4 separate regions of the Homo sapiens genome follow, and regions 2, 3 and 4 are each linked to region 1. The links are contacts of gene promoters, found by promoter capture Hi-C in blood cells and fetal thymus (Javierre and others, 2016). All regions are on one chromosome and are shown on one strand. The core of a region is centred on a gene start or on the middle of the fragment in contact, and the rest is flanking DNA. Distances in the headings are between cores, read along the strand shown.

Evidence for each region. Contacts are between HindIII fragments. The CHiCAGO score rates a contact against its expected background, and 5 or more counts as called.
Region 2: a contact is called between a fragment that was not itself captured here and the fragment with the promoter of SLC18B1 in region 1, in 17 of 17 cell types (neutrophils, monocytes, M0 macrophages and 14 more). The highest score is 13.1, in neutrophils.
Region 3: a fragment that was not itself captured here is called in contact with the fragment with the promoter of SLC18B1 in region 1 in 1 of 17 cell types (total B cells); the score reaches 5.4 in total B cells.
Region 4: a contact is called between a fragment that was not itself captured here and the fragment with the promoter of SLC18B1 in region 1, in 1 of 17 cell types (total B cells). The highest score is 6.0, in total B cells.

What each region holds. Positions count from the first base shown.
Region 1 is chr6:132,797,071-132,800,917 of GRCh38, reverse strand. SLC18B1 (solute carrier family 18 member B1) reads left to right here and starts at 2,281. Exons shown (of 14, transcript NM_052831.3): 1 at 2,281-2,504; 2 at 3,797-3,847. The coding sequence starts at 2,462. RefSeq lists a silencer at 2,214-2,263 and an enhancer at 3,495-3,847. The HindIII fragment of the contact is 1,643 bases long and covers 2,046-3,688 here.
Region 2 is chr6:132,522,431-132,525,996 of GRCh38, reverse strand. No RefSeq gene overlaps it. Among named protein-coding and RNA genes, the nearest start is that of STX7, 11 kb to the right of the region's middle. The HindIII fragment of the contact is 3,210 bases long and covers 345-3,554 here.
Region 3 is chr6:132,298,679-132,302,587 of GRCh38, reverse strand. All of the region lies in intron 10 of MOXD1 (monooxygenase DBH like 1), which reads left to right. Among named protein-coding and RNA genes, the nearest start is that of MOXD1, 100 kb to the left of the region's middle. The HindIII fragment of the contact is 406 bases long and covers 1,554-1,959 here.
Region 4 is chr6:132,354,238-132,357,833 of GRCh38, reverse strand. The region is part of intron 4 of MOXD1 (monooxygenase DBH like 1); the gene reads left to right. Among named protein-coding and RNA genes, the nearest start is that of MOXD1, 45 kb to the left of the region's middle. RefSeq lists an enhancer at 2,264-3,463. The HindIII fragment of the contact is 798 bases long and covers 1,235-2,032 here.

The DNA of each region.
Region 1 (3,847 bases), core at 1,032-3,531:
GAAAATTTCCCTCTACAGATTGATGTTAGATTGAAGAGAAAGCATAGAGTTAAATGAGATTGGAGAAGCTGTCAGGGGTTAGATCATAAAGATTTCATAAGGCTACTTTAGGGAAACTTTGCTAGATTGGAACTTTCTTTTCTTTTCTTTTTTTTTTTTTTTTTTTTTTTTTGAGATGGAGTTTCACTCTTGTTGCCCAGGCTGGAGCACAATGGTGCTGTCTTGGCTCACCACAACCTCTGCCTCCTAGGTTCAAGCGATTCTCCTGCCTCAGCTTCCCGAGTAGCTGGGACTACAGGCATGCGCCACCATGCCCAGCTAATTTTGTATTTTTAGTAGAGACAGGGTTTCTCCATGTTGGTCAGCCTGGTCTCAAACTCTCGACCTCAGGTGATTTGCCTGCCTCGGCCTCCCAAAGTGCTAGGATTACAGGCGTGAGCCACAGCACCTGGCTTAGAGTGGAACTTTCTGTTCAGAGTGGTTCTCTAGGTTCTCCTTTACAACTTGCCCACTGGGGAATTTTTTTTTTTTTTTTTTTGAGATGGAGTCTCGCTCGGTTGCCCAGGCTGGAGTGCAATGGCATGATCTCTGCTCACTGCAACCTCCGAGTCCCAGGTTCAAGCGATTCTCCTGCCTCAGTCTCCTGAGTAGCTGGGTGCCATCATGCCCAGCTAATTTTTGTATTTTTGTAGAGACGGGGTTTCACCGTGTTGGTCAGGCAGGTCTCGAACTTCTGACCTCGTGACCCGCCCACCTCGGCCTCCCAAAGTGCTGGGATTACAGGCGTGAGCCACCGCGCCCGGCCCTCACTGGGGAGTTTTTACATAACCTTCAAGAACCAAGGTAACATCACTTCCTCAGGAAGTCATCCAGGACCCATTTGCCAAAGTAAATGGTTCTTCCAATATGTTTGTATACAACCGATTGCATTATAGTAGATTATTAATTAGTGTGAATTTCATCTGCTAGAAGGTGTGCTACTTGAGGGCAGAGTCTGGATGGGGCTCATTCCTCTTTAAATTCATAATGCCTGGCACAAAGTGGTAACTCAGTCTTTTGTTTTGCTTTGGCTTCAAAACAAGAATTTCCCAGTCCTTAAACTTTATTTATTTATTTGAGACAGAGTTTCGCTTTTTCACCCAGGCTGGAATGAGGTGGCACAGTAATTACAAACTTACTATCAGCCATACTGTGTACTGGAACTGACCTTGTACAGTGGATCTGAGGCAGATTCTCAGTCGATAAAGCTACCCTCACACAATTCTTTTGGATCTTGGCTCACTGTAACCTCCGCCTCCCAGGTTCAAACGATTCTCCTGCCTCAGCCTCCCTAGTAGCTGGGATTACAGGTGCCTGCCACCACGCCTGGCTGATTTTTTTGTATTTTTATAGTAGAGACAGGGTTTCACCATGTTGGCCGGGCTGGTCTAGAACTCCTGACCTCAGGTGAGCTGCCCACCTCGGCCTCCCAAACTGCTGGGATTACAGGCATGAGCCACCGTGTCCAGCCAGTCCTCGAGCTTTAACACTTCCCAAATAGTAAATACGGTGAAAATAAGTGAAACCTATTTTTTATGCAAGAAAACTGTGAGTGTGAGAGTAAGGTAGCAGCCATCATGTTCATGTGCTAACTACTAACACACTTTATCGCCAATGCTCACAGCCGCCCTACGAGATAAACATTATAATCTCAGTTGTACAGGTAGAGAAACTGACCTTGTCATCCAAAGTTACACACTGCCAGCAAGTGCCCTGGCTTGAATCCCTGGCACCTGCCTCCAGAGGTCGCACTCCTAGCCACTTCGCCATGCTTCCTCGATATTCATTAGTATTCTTGCAAATATTTTTCGACTCCAGGTGCTTCACATAGGTTAATTCATTTCCGGTTCAATAGTGTCTGGCTTCAGTAATTACGAACACTACCGCATTTACCCACTGTGAAAAATAATTCACTCTTTCAAAGTTCCTGTATAACCTAATTTTCTAATTCACTTTTGTGTCTTTCAGTTGAGGTACTCCCTGCCTTTTCTGTGTCTACATAAGCTTCCTTTCTTTCGTTTCGTAGGAATAAATTGAACTTATTTTAAGATTGAGGGGGGTACAGCTGTATGGAATATAGACTCATCTTTTTTCACTCTCTGTCACAGAATGAAAAAGGACACCATGATATAGCAGCTGAGGTGGTGGATTAAGATAATGAGGCGGGGGGGGGGCGCAAAACAAAAAAAAAAGGAGCCTTGCTCCACCCCTGCCCCGCCCCCGGCCTCCTCCCGGGGACCCAGAGTCCTGGAAGGCTTTGGGGAGCTCCGGGCCGGGCGGATCGCTGCCTGCAGGGAGTCGGGGATGCCAGGTTCCAGCTGAGCAGCGGCCGCCCGCCAGAGTGCCAGTGGCTCCTTGGAGGTCGAGTCCAAGGACGTGGCTTGAAGCCGGGAGCTGGGGCGCCGGAGTCCACGCACCGGGGATGGAGGCGCTGGGTGACCTGGAGGGACCACGCGCACCAGGAGGTGACCATGAATTGCGTGGCCGGGAGCCCGGAGACCAGCGGCGGCTTCCGGCGTGTCTCTTTAGCAACGATTGAATTGCTTATAGCTTGATCTGTTTCCGAGAGATTGGAAAAGGCTGGGGCCTGATCGTGGGGTTCGGGCCAGCGTTTCTTTTCTCTCTGGACGGGGTAAAGTTCCAGGATTGGATATGTGTCACGGTTTCTAATGACTTTCTAACCTATACCTCTGCTTTTTAAGTACTGTGTGTTTAATGCATTCAAATAAGTATGCCATTAGGCAAATGTAAAACGTTACCTTTCAAGTACCCATTGTTGTTGCCTTTCTTTTTAACTTTCATTTCCCTTTCTCATCTACTACAAACATTTTACAAAGATTCGTAAGACTTCCTCATGTTGCACTGATTTTTTTTTTCCTTCTGGACTGCAATGGCAACCTCTGACAAATAGAGCAAAGCAAATGTATTTCTCTTAAGTTTTTCCTAAAAACAATTTAATTTATAAATGGCTGATGGATTTGCTTGGATATTTGGAACTCAGTAATTGATTTCGTGTTTTTAAATGACAATTTAGCCCTGGAAATAAGTGTTAAATTAACTGATGTAAAAGACCAGTAATTAGGGTAAAAAAAAAGTATTTATTTATGAATTTGTGGGACTTGTCTATCCAGAAGCATACCGCTGTAAATATTAATTCACCAGCTGAATGATTTAGCTTGTTTTCTCCTACTTACACTTCATTTGACTTCAATACTGCCTTAGAAATCTTTGTTTTTTGTTTTTGTTTTTGTTTTTGTTTGTTTGTTTTGTTTTGCTTTTTTGAGACGGAGTCTCTCTCTGTAGCCCAGGCTGGAGTGCAGTGGTGCGATCTTGGCTCACTGCAAGCTCCGCCTCCCGGGTTCACGCCATTCTCCTGCCTCAGCCTCCCGAGTAGCTGGGATACAGGGGCCCGCCACCACGCCCGGCTAATTTTTTGTATTTTTAGTAGAGACGGGGTTTCACCGTGTTAGCCAGGATGGTCTCGATCTCCTGACCTCGTGATCCGCCTGCCTCGGCCTCCCAAAGTTCTGGGATTACAGGCGTGAGCCACCGTGCCCAGCCGAAAGCAGTACGTTTTCAAAACGGCAGTAATGTACAAGGATTGTGTTCCATTTGATCAAATGTGCTATATTCAAAATAGCCCTAAGCTTAGCAAATGATATCTTCAGAGTGCAACATATGTGCACAGAAATCACATTTGTGTACTTTAATCAGTAGTCTCAATTATATGCCTAATTGCTGCATGTTTGCATTCAAGGTGATGATCCTGCAGGAAGTGCAGGAGAGACCCCCGGGTGGCTTTCGAGAG
Region 2 (3,566 bases), core at 700-3,199, 270 kb after region 1:
TTAATCCAGAGAGAATAGTCATTAACACCCTATAGTGCCAAATCCACTTTTAACAAAGAGGGATTTTACTGAGGGGAGAGCCTCTAACCCCCTACATCTTACCAGGGACTCTGACTTTCCTAAGTTGGGCCTTGAACCCAAACCCATACAGGTTTCCAGGCAAAATGTACCCCACTACTTACCCGAAGTCAGCCAATTGGTGCTGCAGTCTATATCCTTTGGATTGACATAGTAACTAAGCCAAAAGGTTAGTAGATTTGAGTTTTTAAAAAATCAGTTGCTTAACCTTTTTATTTGGCTTTTGTAAAGTCTTTAAATAAAAAATTGAGCTTTTATTAGAAGCTTCTGCATATCAACAGGCATCTATAGATGAGACTAATTTGGGAGCCCACATTTTCAAATGCACTTCAGTGCAGTGTTATTTGGAACGTTCTACTGTAAGTTATCTTTAGTAAGATTTTGCCATTTCTGTAAGACTCTGCTTCTTCCGGGGCCTAATGTGTAAGCTGGAAGGAATTCAGTTCTTCAGAAATTAAAGATCCCATTTTTACCTGAAATATTGGGCTTTCTCAGGTTCCCTTGACCAACTTAGCCACTCATTTCTTTTCCTATTTAAGCGCACAAGAAAAATGAAACAAAGGGGTAGAACACAAAAATCCCTGCAAATTTCCAAAAGCCAAATTTTACACCCCCTGCAATTATGCCATTTACTACCAGTTTCTTTCTGACTGAGTCAGATGTGAGAGACCTCTAACTGGATCCAAGCCAGTTAATTACGGGATCCATTCTGATCTTGGACCCAGTCCAGTGTCTGTCGCGACTTCCAAATCCAGCTTGGATCAGAAATTTGCTCAAAGAAACTCAGAGTGTTCAAAACACAAATCTGTGGAGCCTCAGAATCCGAGCGAGAACTTAACCATATTCTCTAGCTGCTCTGAGAGAGCAACAGACACAATGGGTCCAGCGGGTACCTCCCTTGGTCACGCAGTGCTCATGGGGGTCGTTAGAAGCTCTACTTTAGATCCAATTTCTGATGCCATCTGATAAAAGAAAAACTTCAGCCAAATTAAATTTAAAGGAATTTGATTGAGCCAAGAAGATTCATGAACTGGGCAGCCTCCCAAACTAGAGTAAATTCTGAGACTCCAGTGCAGCCACATAGAGGAAGAAGATTTATGGACAGAAAAAAGGAAAGTGACATACAGAAGATAGGAGTAAGCACAAAAACAGCTGGATTGGTGACAGCCCCGCATTTGCCTTAACTGAACACGGTTCAAACAGTTGGCTACATTTGGCCAAAACTCAGTGATTGGTACAAGTGTAGGCTATGATCTGTACCTCCACTTGTTTGTAGTTCACGATGTACGGAGAAACCTTTAGGCTGAACTTAAAATACATAAGGAGGCAGCTTTAGGCTAAACTTGTTGTAACACTTTGCTCTTGCTACTGTAGGATTACTGTAAAACCTTAGTAAGTAAAGTTTTGCCTTAGGCTCTATTTTTCAAGACACTTGGACTAAGACTTCTGTGAATTGTCTATTATGAGCTTTTACTAAGTTTTCTAGTGTGGTGTCTTGGTTTGGTTTCTCTAGAAGCAGAAACTTGGGCTCAGAATGGAGAATTTGGAAAGAATTCTCACAGGAGAAGGGCAGTAAGAGAAGTTGGTTCCACAGCATGTTCTGAGAAAGACTGTGGTCTTGGCTGGAGACTTTTGGTTGGATCCCACAGGGAAGCTCTGGAGCACAAGTTGCACCACAGAATTAATTCCAACGTAAGTCCAGGGACTGATGTCAATTTGTCATTGGTTGAGGTTGGGGGGAGTCAGCGCATATTGACTCTGGGTGGGGCAGCTCCCTTGGGCCAAGGGCAATTTTCTAGAGTAGAAGGTAGCTGTGATTGGTGCTTAGCTGATTACTCACAGCAACTATGGATTGGTTACTGAGGCAGTCAAAGAGAACCTGGCTGAGGTGTCAATAACATCTACCACAGGAGGTTTGTCTATCTTATACTTTATAACAGGATGTAAAACATTTGTATTAGAGCTTGCAGGCATTTTCTCTTCATTTGTCATTCTCTTTCACTTTGTTTATGATTTTAATAAGACATTGTAAATGTTTGTGCCATAAATACAAATCATCTTCTTTAAGGTTCTTGCTTTTCTTGCCCTTTTCACTCAAAGTAGAAAAACAATTATTTGGATAGAAGGAATATGATACAGGTCATAGACCTGGCTCTACACAAAGAACTGAAGAGATTTAGAAATGGAATATGTAAAGGTAAAATAAAATTTTTTTCTCTTATTTTAAGTTACTCTAAAAGATGAATGACTTTGAGAGTATAACAATACTCTACATACATACAAAACCATACAATATTGTTTTCTGTATAACAATAGCAGAAGAAATGAGAAGAAGGATTTGGGAATATACTGTTATAATGTCCTTGCAAATACCTCATTTGAAAGTAGATTTAGGTTAATTTTTTAAAGAGGTAAAAATAATTTTTAGGAGGAATACACATAATAAGTCAATAGAGAAGATAAAATAGAATCATTTAAAAATTCCTGATAAAACCCAGGAAAGAAAGAAAAAGAGGAAAAATAAAAATAGAACAGACAACAGCTAGAGAGATGGTAGATTTTAATTCAAATTGTCAATAACCTTAAATTTAAATGATCTATACATACTAGTTGAAAGACAAAGAATTTAAAACAGAATAAAAAAACAAGACACAACTCTGCTGTCTACAAAATACTCACTTGTAATGTAAAGGCATGGATAGGACAAACATAAAAAGATGAAGATAGATCATATCAAACTGAATCAAATGAAATCTGAAGTAGCTACAATAACTTCAAACAAAATAGATGTCAAGATAAGGATTATTATTAGAGATAAAGAGGGGTACTATATAATAATAAAGGGGTCAATTCATCAGGAAGACATAACAATCCTAAAAGTGTTTACATATAACAACAGAACTTCAAAACACATAGGGAAAATCCTGAAAGATATGAAAGAAAAAGTAGAGAAATTTACAGTTCTAGTTGGAGACTTCAACCCTCCTCTCTTAGTAATTGATGAAATAAGTAGGGAGAATATCAGCAAAATCCCCCAAACACTACCAACTAACTTGAACTAATTTACACTTATAAAATATTCCACCCAACAGCAATATTACTCTTTCTTTTGTAGTGTACATGAAATACTCATTGATCATATTCTGGGCCAGCAAACAAAACTTAACAAATTTAAAAGAATATAAATCATACAAAGTATGTTTTCTGACCATAAAAATATACCAAATATTAATAAAATAAAATTATCTTAAACACCTCAAATATTTGGAAAATTAAACAATACATTTCTAAAAATCACCATGGGTCAAGAGGGTGTCTTAAGGGTTATTTAAAAAATAGTTTGAATGAAATGAAAGTAAAAATTCCAACATATCAAAATGTGTGTGACGCAGCTAAATCAGTACTTAAATGAAAATATATAGCAGTAAATGCTTACATAAGAAAAGAAGAAAGATCTCAAGTCAGTAACTTAAGCTTCCAGCTTAAGA
Region 3 (3,909 bases), core at 507-3,006, 500 kb after region 1:
CATGGTATGCCTCTTCACTTATTTACTGTTCTTTCATTTCTCTAAGCACTTTTTTGTGGTTTTCAATATAGAAGTTTTGCGCATGTTTTGTTAATAATATGTTTTTTTAAGTTTTAGTTATCCTTGTCTGCTAATTCTTTAATCTCTGTCATTTCAAGATCTTGGAGTATTGACTGATTTTTTCTTCTAGTTTAGATTCACATTTACATACTTGTTGATGTGTTTAATAATTTTTTGACTAGACATAGACAACAGGACATTATGCACATTCTGTTAATTAGTACTAGGTTGTTTTTATTTCTTTAAAGAACCTTGTTAGCGTGAGTCTAGAATAGATGTTTACTCCGTGTAGTCAACAGAGACATTCCACTCTGGCTAGTTTGAGCTCAAATGTCTGCTAGCTCTATACAGGCTCTGGGAATTGTTTAGGTCACAATCTTCTAGTTGTTCATTGCCCAGTCTTGTGGATTTTACCCTAAATATAGTTGGCTTATTGCTTAGTTACTGACTCAGAGGATCCTTATACAAATTTTTCCTCTGCAGTAGTCTACCTTGAATATGTAAGCTTCTTCAGACTCCCTTAACTCTGGTCTTCATCTCCTTAACTTATTGAGATCGTCATTTTCTGTTTCGAAATTCCCTTTCCTGCATTCTGGTTCAGAGAATGCTTCTAGGCAGAAAGCTGGGATGAACATAATATTCAAACACCTTATTTGTTTCCTTCCTTTTGGGGATCATAGTTCTGTGCTATTTTCCAATGTCCAAACCAGCTGTTTCATATGGTTTGTCGAATTTTGAGTTTTTTACAGGAAGTTAGTGTCAGTTACTCCAACATGGCCAAAAGTGGAAGTCTGTTAATGAATTTTTGTTCCTTTTGCTAGTTTTTGATCACATGTTTACTTGCTTGATGGATGGAGAGTGTGTAATATAGTTCATTTAGCTATAAGTACATGGACTTTGTTTCTTGGTTAAATCTTCCATCTCTCTTCCTTCCTTCTCCTTCTCTACCCCGAGAAAGACATTAGCAATAAAACTTTTAAAACAGGAGTCCAGAGAGGCTCAGATAAGAAATGTAACCACAGATTATTTTTCTCCATCTGCTTTTCAATTTATATAGAACAGAGGGACCAAGTATAAAAATCATTAAACTTTTAAAATTTCCATTGATCAGTTTGAATTTATAAGAATAAATAGCTTTATGTTCCACTTAAAAATTTAAAAAATTACTCTACCATGGTGTATTGCAGTCAACTTTGCTATCTTCTTAGAAAAACATGTCTCAGAGTTTAGATGGAATTTACAAAGGAAAATTACCCATCAATATTAAAGCATAATAATAACACTGTTTTTTATTGACTACAGTAATATATATATATATATATATATATAATACCATTCGTTTACATGTATGTATGGAGAGACATTTACACACTGACAAGATATGCAGAAATGTAACTTTTTATTTCTGTAACATTCCCAATTATTTCCAACTAATCCCTAATCCCAGTAAAAGCAGAAATACTTGCTACTTTAAGGTTACCTGGTTTAAAGCTTAGTCTTTTTGAAAAAAAGTATTCAGGATAAATATTCACTTTTTCTGTCTGCTCTTTTCTCTAGGAAATAATTTGGAAGTGTGTAGGATAGGCTAGAAAGGTTAGAGATGACAAGTAGGATGTTTATTAGTATAAAGTTATTATAGAACAGGGGCCTAAACCAAGTTAGTGGGAGTGGAAAGGAGATGATAAATATGAGACAAAGATGCCATCTCAGAAAGGTTGATGACCACATCCCCAGGTCACCCAGCCTCAGTCATTCTGTCTCCAACATACGCGCCATTGGGCTTGGCCTTTCTACATATCTGTTCTAAAAACTGACAAATGGGGTTACACCTCTTCTGTCACTTTATGTTGGACAATCTCAATAATAGGCAATTTAGTAAATTATTATAGCAGCAAAGCTTTTTAAGATTTCATCTGTGTATAATGGTCACACTATTCACTCTTAACAGCGGGGCACCAGAGGCTTTAGGCAACCTAAGCACCATAGTAAAGCTGTCGTGCCACCTTGTGGTGTTTCAGATGGTTACAGACTGATGATTTTCCCCTAGCATTTATCTGGTTATAAAATTGATTTTCTCTTTTTCAAATTAGGCATTTTATCTTTTTGAAAAGTAAATTTTATTTTTAATAATTGACTTAAAATGATCAATAGCTGTAGCTTTTAGTGCTTTTAAAAGGACATTGTATGCAAATATAATAACTTCTTTCAAGTCAAGTTTTTGCTTGATACTAATTCTGGATTGTGTCTCTACAAAATTGTCACAATATGTTTAATTTTCAAATGCTATAGATTTTAGGCCATTGCTAGGTATGTTTATGTAATGCAATGCTGATTGCTCTTACTTTATGGGGCTTCACTTTAAGGTCTTTGTATAAAATAATGCATTTAAAACTCAACAAAGATATATATTGATTCTAATTAAAGGAAATTATGAAAAATGTAAAGATCTATATATATTACCTATTTTCCTCATTGTCTCACTTATTAGATATGGAAGAAATATTTCAAATTTAGACATAAAAAATTATCTTTATAACTCCAAGAAATTAATAAGGAACTTTTAATTTACTTAAAAAGATGATATTCAATGTGCCTGAGTGGGTTATGTATGTTAAGAGAGAGAGAGAGAGAGAGAGAGGGAGAGAGAAATGACATAAATAAATTTTAAAAATATGAAGATTAATGTATATTCTTCAGCTGAGATTATTTGATAATTATAGAAATTACTGTAACATCTTGGGATGTTATGAGTGCCAGATACTTTCTAGTCACCATGATAATTTCCTGCAAGGTCCATGGATTAATGTAAAATTTTGTGACATGCCAGCACTTACACTTTTCCCTTTTTCAGGAATCAATAATATAAAACTTATATTTAATGAAAGACAACACCTGAAAACTATCTTTTCAAGCAAGTTATGTCATTCACTTTTTCACTTCACTTTTTCTGTCACTTCTTCTGTCTGCTCATGTCATTCTTGTGATTTCTTTTTCCTTTCTTGAATATTTGGCATGTGATTTTTGGAGTGGCAGGTGAAGGCAGAGTGTATTCTATATAGGGTATTTTTTTTCTCAGTACATTTTTAAAATTTCAACTTTTATTTTAGGTTCAAGGGATGCATGTTTAGGTTTGTTACAATGGTATATTGTGTGAAACTGAGGTTTAGAGTATGAATGATTCCATCACCCAGGTAGTGAGCCAGGCACCCAACAGGTAGTTTTTTCATTCTTGTCTCCCTCTCTCCCTCTCTCTCTAGTAGTTCCCAGTGTCTGTTTTTCCCATCTTTATGTCTATGTGTATTCAATGATTAGATCCCACTTATATGTGAGAACACGCGGTTTTTGGTTTTCTGTTCCTGTGTAATTCACTTAGGATGATGGCCTCCAGATGCACCCATGCTGCTGCAAAGGACATGATTTCTTTCTTTTTTTGTGTGGCTACATAGTATTCCATGGTGTATATGTACCACATTTTCTTTATCTAGTCCACCTTTGATGGACACCTTGGTTGATTCCATGTCTTTGCTATTGTGAATAGTGCTATGATGAACATACAAATGCATGTGGTCTTTTTGGTAGAACTATTTATTTTCCTTTGGGTGTATAGCTAGTAATAGGATTACTGGGTTGAATGGTAGTTCTGTTTTAAGTTCTTTGAGAAATCTACAAACTGCTTCCACAGTTGGCTGAACTAATTTACATCCCCACCAACAATGTATAAGCATTGTCTTTTCTCTGCAACCTTGCCAATATCAGTTGTTGTTTTTTTTTGCATTTTAATAATAGCCCTTCTGACTGGTGAGATGGTATCTCACTCTGGTTTTTATTTGCATTTTTCTGATGATTATT
Region 4 (3,596 bases), core at 384-2,883, 440 kb after region 1:
TAAATTTTTATTACTTATCTCTATCTCTCCTTCAAAATATGAAATATAAAACAATTTCAAAGCAAAAAATACACCTAAGATTTATATCTCCATTTTATCATCTCTTAACTATCTATAATTAAATAATTTTTAAAGCTTTTCAAAAAGCTCTAAATTACTTGGATATTATTATCCAGTAATTTAGAACAGCTGGACACTCACTTTGATTTCATTGACTTTTCTGAGACATTTAAAAGAGGGAAAAATTGAAATATTTATATTTAACTAGATTTTTATATGGTATATTAGTTCCTTTATAACTTGGAATTCATTACTTTTACTATCTTTCCTTTTTATTTCTATACTTCCTTTTAAGATAAAGTTTAGTTCCTTTAAGAACTGGACTGCCAGATGAACCTGATTTGTTTAGTAAGGCAAACTCTTATTGTAAGTGTTTGTAAGATTCACAGTTGAATTACATTTACAAGGTTAGAGAACTAAGTTCTTTTTTCAGTGGTAAACAGGAAATGTCAGTACTCTGAGTAATATTTTCCACTCATATAGCAAATAGAATTTTCCAAAAGATTGTTAGTTCAGTCACATTTTTTTCAAACTATATTTACTCCAAGTGCTAAGAGATATTTTATGGGATAATTTATTTCTTCTTCAGCTTGAATTAATAATCAGATAAAATTCATATGTGATATGATGTGCTTCTGGACTGGCTTTTAACAATCTTGCAAAGAGGTCACAACTGTTGAGTTTTTATCTCTCATCATTTGAAAGATTAAGGAGTTTTTTTCTCTAGAGAACACTTTATTTTCTAATATGAGAATATTTTCTAACGTGTATTTGTTTCATTTCCAGTGTAATATATACTTCTCATAATAAGTAAAAAAGTAAAAAATATATAAAATAAAAAGTAGTAGTGCCCTCTTTCTCCAAATTCTACTTTCCTGAGGTGACTAATGCTAACAGATTTATTTGTATTTTTCTAAAACTTTATGCTGAAGAAAACATTTACAACATTTATATAGGATTTTTTTGGGTTAATCTCTTTTATTTGTAAACAAATTAGGATCACTCTATATCTATTACTTTGAATTTTGCTTTTCAAATTAATGCCCTCATCATTACTGGACAAAATATTATAACACATTATTTTTAATGTTTACATAATTTAATCTCCTATTATGTATAAACCATAATTTTTGCAGCCATACACTTTTGATGCACATTCAAGATGTTGTAAGCTTTTTGCTACCATAAACATTGCTTCAGTAAATGTTCTTGTAAGTATATCGTTATGTATTGGTGGTTTCATTCCTATACGCTAGATTGCTAAATGGATTGAATCAAGATTACATGTATTTCAAACTTTAATATATTTGTCAGATTACTTTATAAAATTCACACACTAGCTGTATGTGAATATTTTCTCATCCCTTCTTGAGCACTGGATATTTTAGTCTTTTAAATTTATTGCCTGTTAATGGATGAAAACTAATATTTCTGATTGCTTTGGCTTGCTTTCCTTAGACTACTAGTGAGGCTTATGCTCTTTTTATGCTCTCTTCTGTCAGTTTGCTGTTCAACCCTTTACCGATTTCTTTTTAAAACATTCTTTTATTGAATTGCCTAGATAAAAGTGCACAAACAGTATAAAACTCATTGAATTTTCATAAGGTGAACTGACTCATGAAACCAGAATCAAGATCAAGAATAGAGTATCAACTCAGAAGCGTCCTTTGCGTCCCCTCCCAGGTACTGTCTGTCCCCAGAGGTCACCAGTTTGCTGACTTAAATCACTCTTTACTAATTTTGCCTGTTGTGAATTTTTTGTAGGTAGACAGAAACGCTAGTGCTCTTCTGTGTCTGGCTTTTTTTGCCGAACGGGATGTGCAAGTTGGCCATGTTGTTTGTAGAAAATAATGTGTTCATTTTCATCTTTGAATTTCATTTTCTGAACATACCAGAATTTTTTATTCATTTTTATTGGTTAGCTATTTCTGTGAACCAAACCAACCCAAAGTTCAACAACTTTAAATAAGCTTTAAATGAAGAAGCACATGTTATAGTTTACAAGTCAGCTTGGTGGTTCTTCTGTTTGTAGCTGGGCTACAAACAGGTATGTAACCAGCTTGGGTTGGGTATGCAGCTTTCTAATAGTGCCTGGGCTCTCTCTTCTTGTTGGGAGTCAGCTGGTTGTAAGCAGGTCTAGGAGGCCTCAGCTGAACAAGTGGGCTCTCCTTTATAGTATCTTGTTCTCTAGAAGTCTAGACTGGGCTTGTTCAAATGGTGATGGCACAGTTCCAAAAGAGAGAGTAGAAACTGTAAGGCCACTTGAGGCTTGGTTTGGGATTAGCACGCCATTGCTCCTGCCATAAGAAGCAGGCCCAGCCTACATACCGGAGAATGGTGATAGACTCCAACCCCTGAAGGTCTAGTTTGTGGGAGAACTTTCTGACCTTACCTGGAGTTGAGTCAATTTAGAGAGCTGAGCAAAATACAGGGATAGAGGAAGCAGTGGGAAAGGACCTGGGAGCTCACTGGGTCCCTAAGCATGCCATCCCTGCTTGGTACCACAGGGATCTTTTGGGAGGGTGACCAGAGGCACAGGGTAAAATGCCACAGGGAGAAGGAAGTCCCCAGCTGAACTTTGTAACAATTTGAATCCAGCAAGAAGCCTCCTGGCCAGAACCTGGGGAAGGGCACGAATCTGGTGTGCAGACTCCACGGGTGAGGGAAGAACCAAATCCTTTTTCTTCTGCACCTGGGAAGTGGCTAGTCTGGGGCAAGTTCTCAAGCCGTGCTCATCTACTGCCTGGAAACAGGATGTTGGGGGAGGGGCATGATGGGAGGGAGACCAGCCCTTCAGATTGTGTGGGAGCTGAGTGAGGCCTGTGACTGTTGGTTTTCCCCTACTTCCCTGGCAACCTGCATGACTCAGCAGAAGCAGCCATGATCCTCCTAGGTAGATGACTCCATTGACCTGGGAACCTCACCCCCATTCCCCACAGCAGCTGCAGCAAGACCCTTCCAAGGAGAGTCTGAGCTCAGACACACCTAGCCCTGCCCCCACCTGATGGGCCTTCCCTACCCACCCTGGTAGCTGAAGACAAACGCTATATACTCTTGGGAGTTCTAGGGCCCCGCCCACCACCACTTCCTCTTCGTACCACCACAGCTGATGCTCTCTGGAAAGTGCCACCTCCTGGCAGGACGCCAACCAGCACAAAAATAGAACTTTAAATCACCAAAGGTAAGAACCCTCACAGAGCCCATTTCATCTCCCTGCCACCTCCACTGGAACAGGTGCTGGTATCAATGGCTGAGAGGCCCATAGACAGTTCACATCACAGGGCTCTGTGCAGACAAACCCCAGTACCAGCCTGGAGCCTGGTAGACTTGCTGGGTGGCTACACCCAGAAGAGATATAACAATCACTGCAGCTTATCTCACAGGAAGCCACATCCATAGAAAAAAGGGGAGAGTACTATATTAAGGGAACATCCCCTGGGACAAAATAATCTGAACAGTAGCCTTCACCCGTAGACTTTTCCTCTGACAGAGCCTACCCAAATGAGAAGGAACCAGAAAACCAACTCTGGTGATAT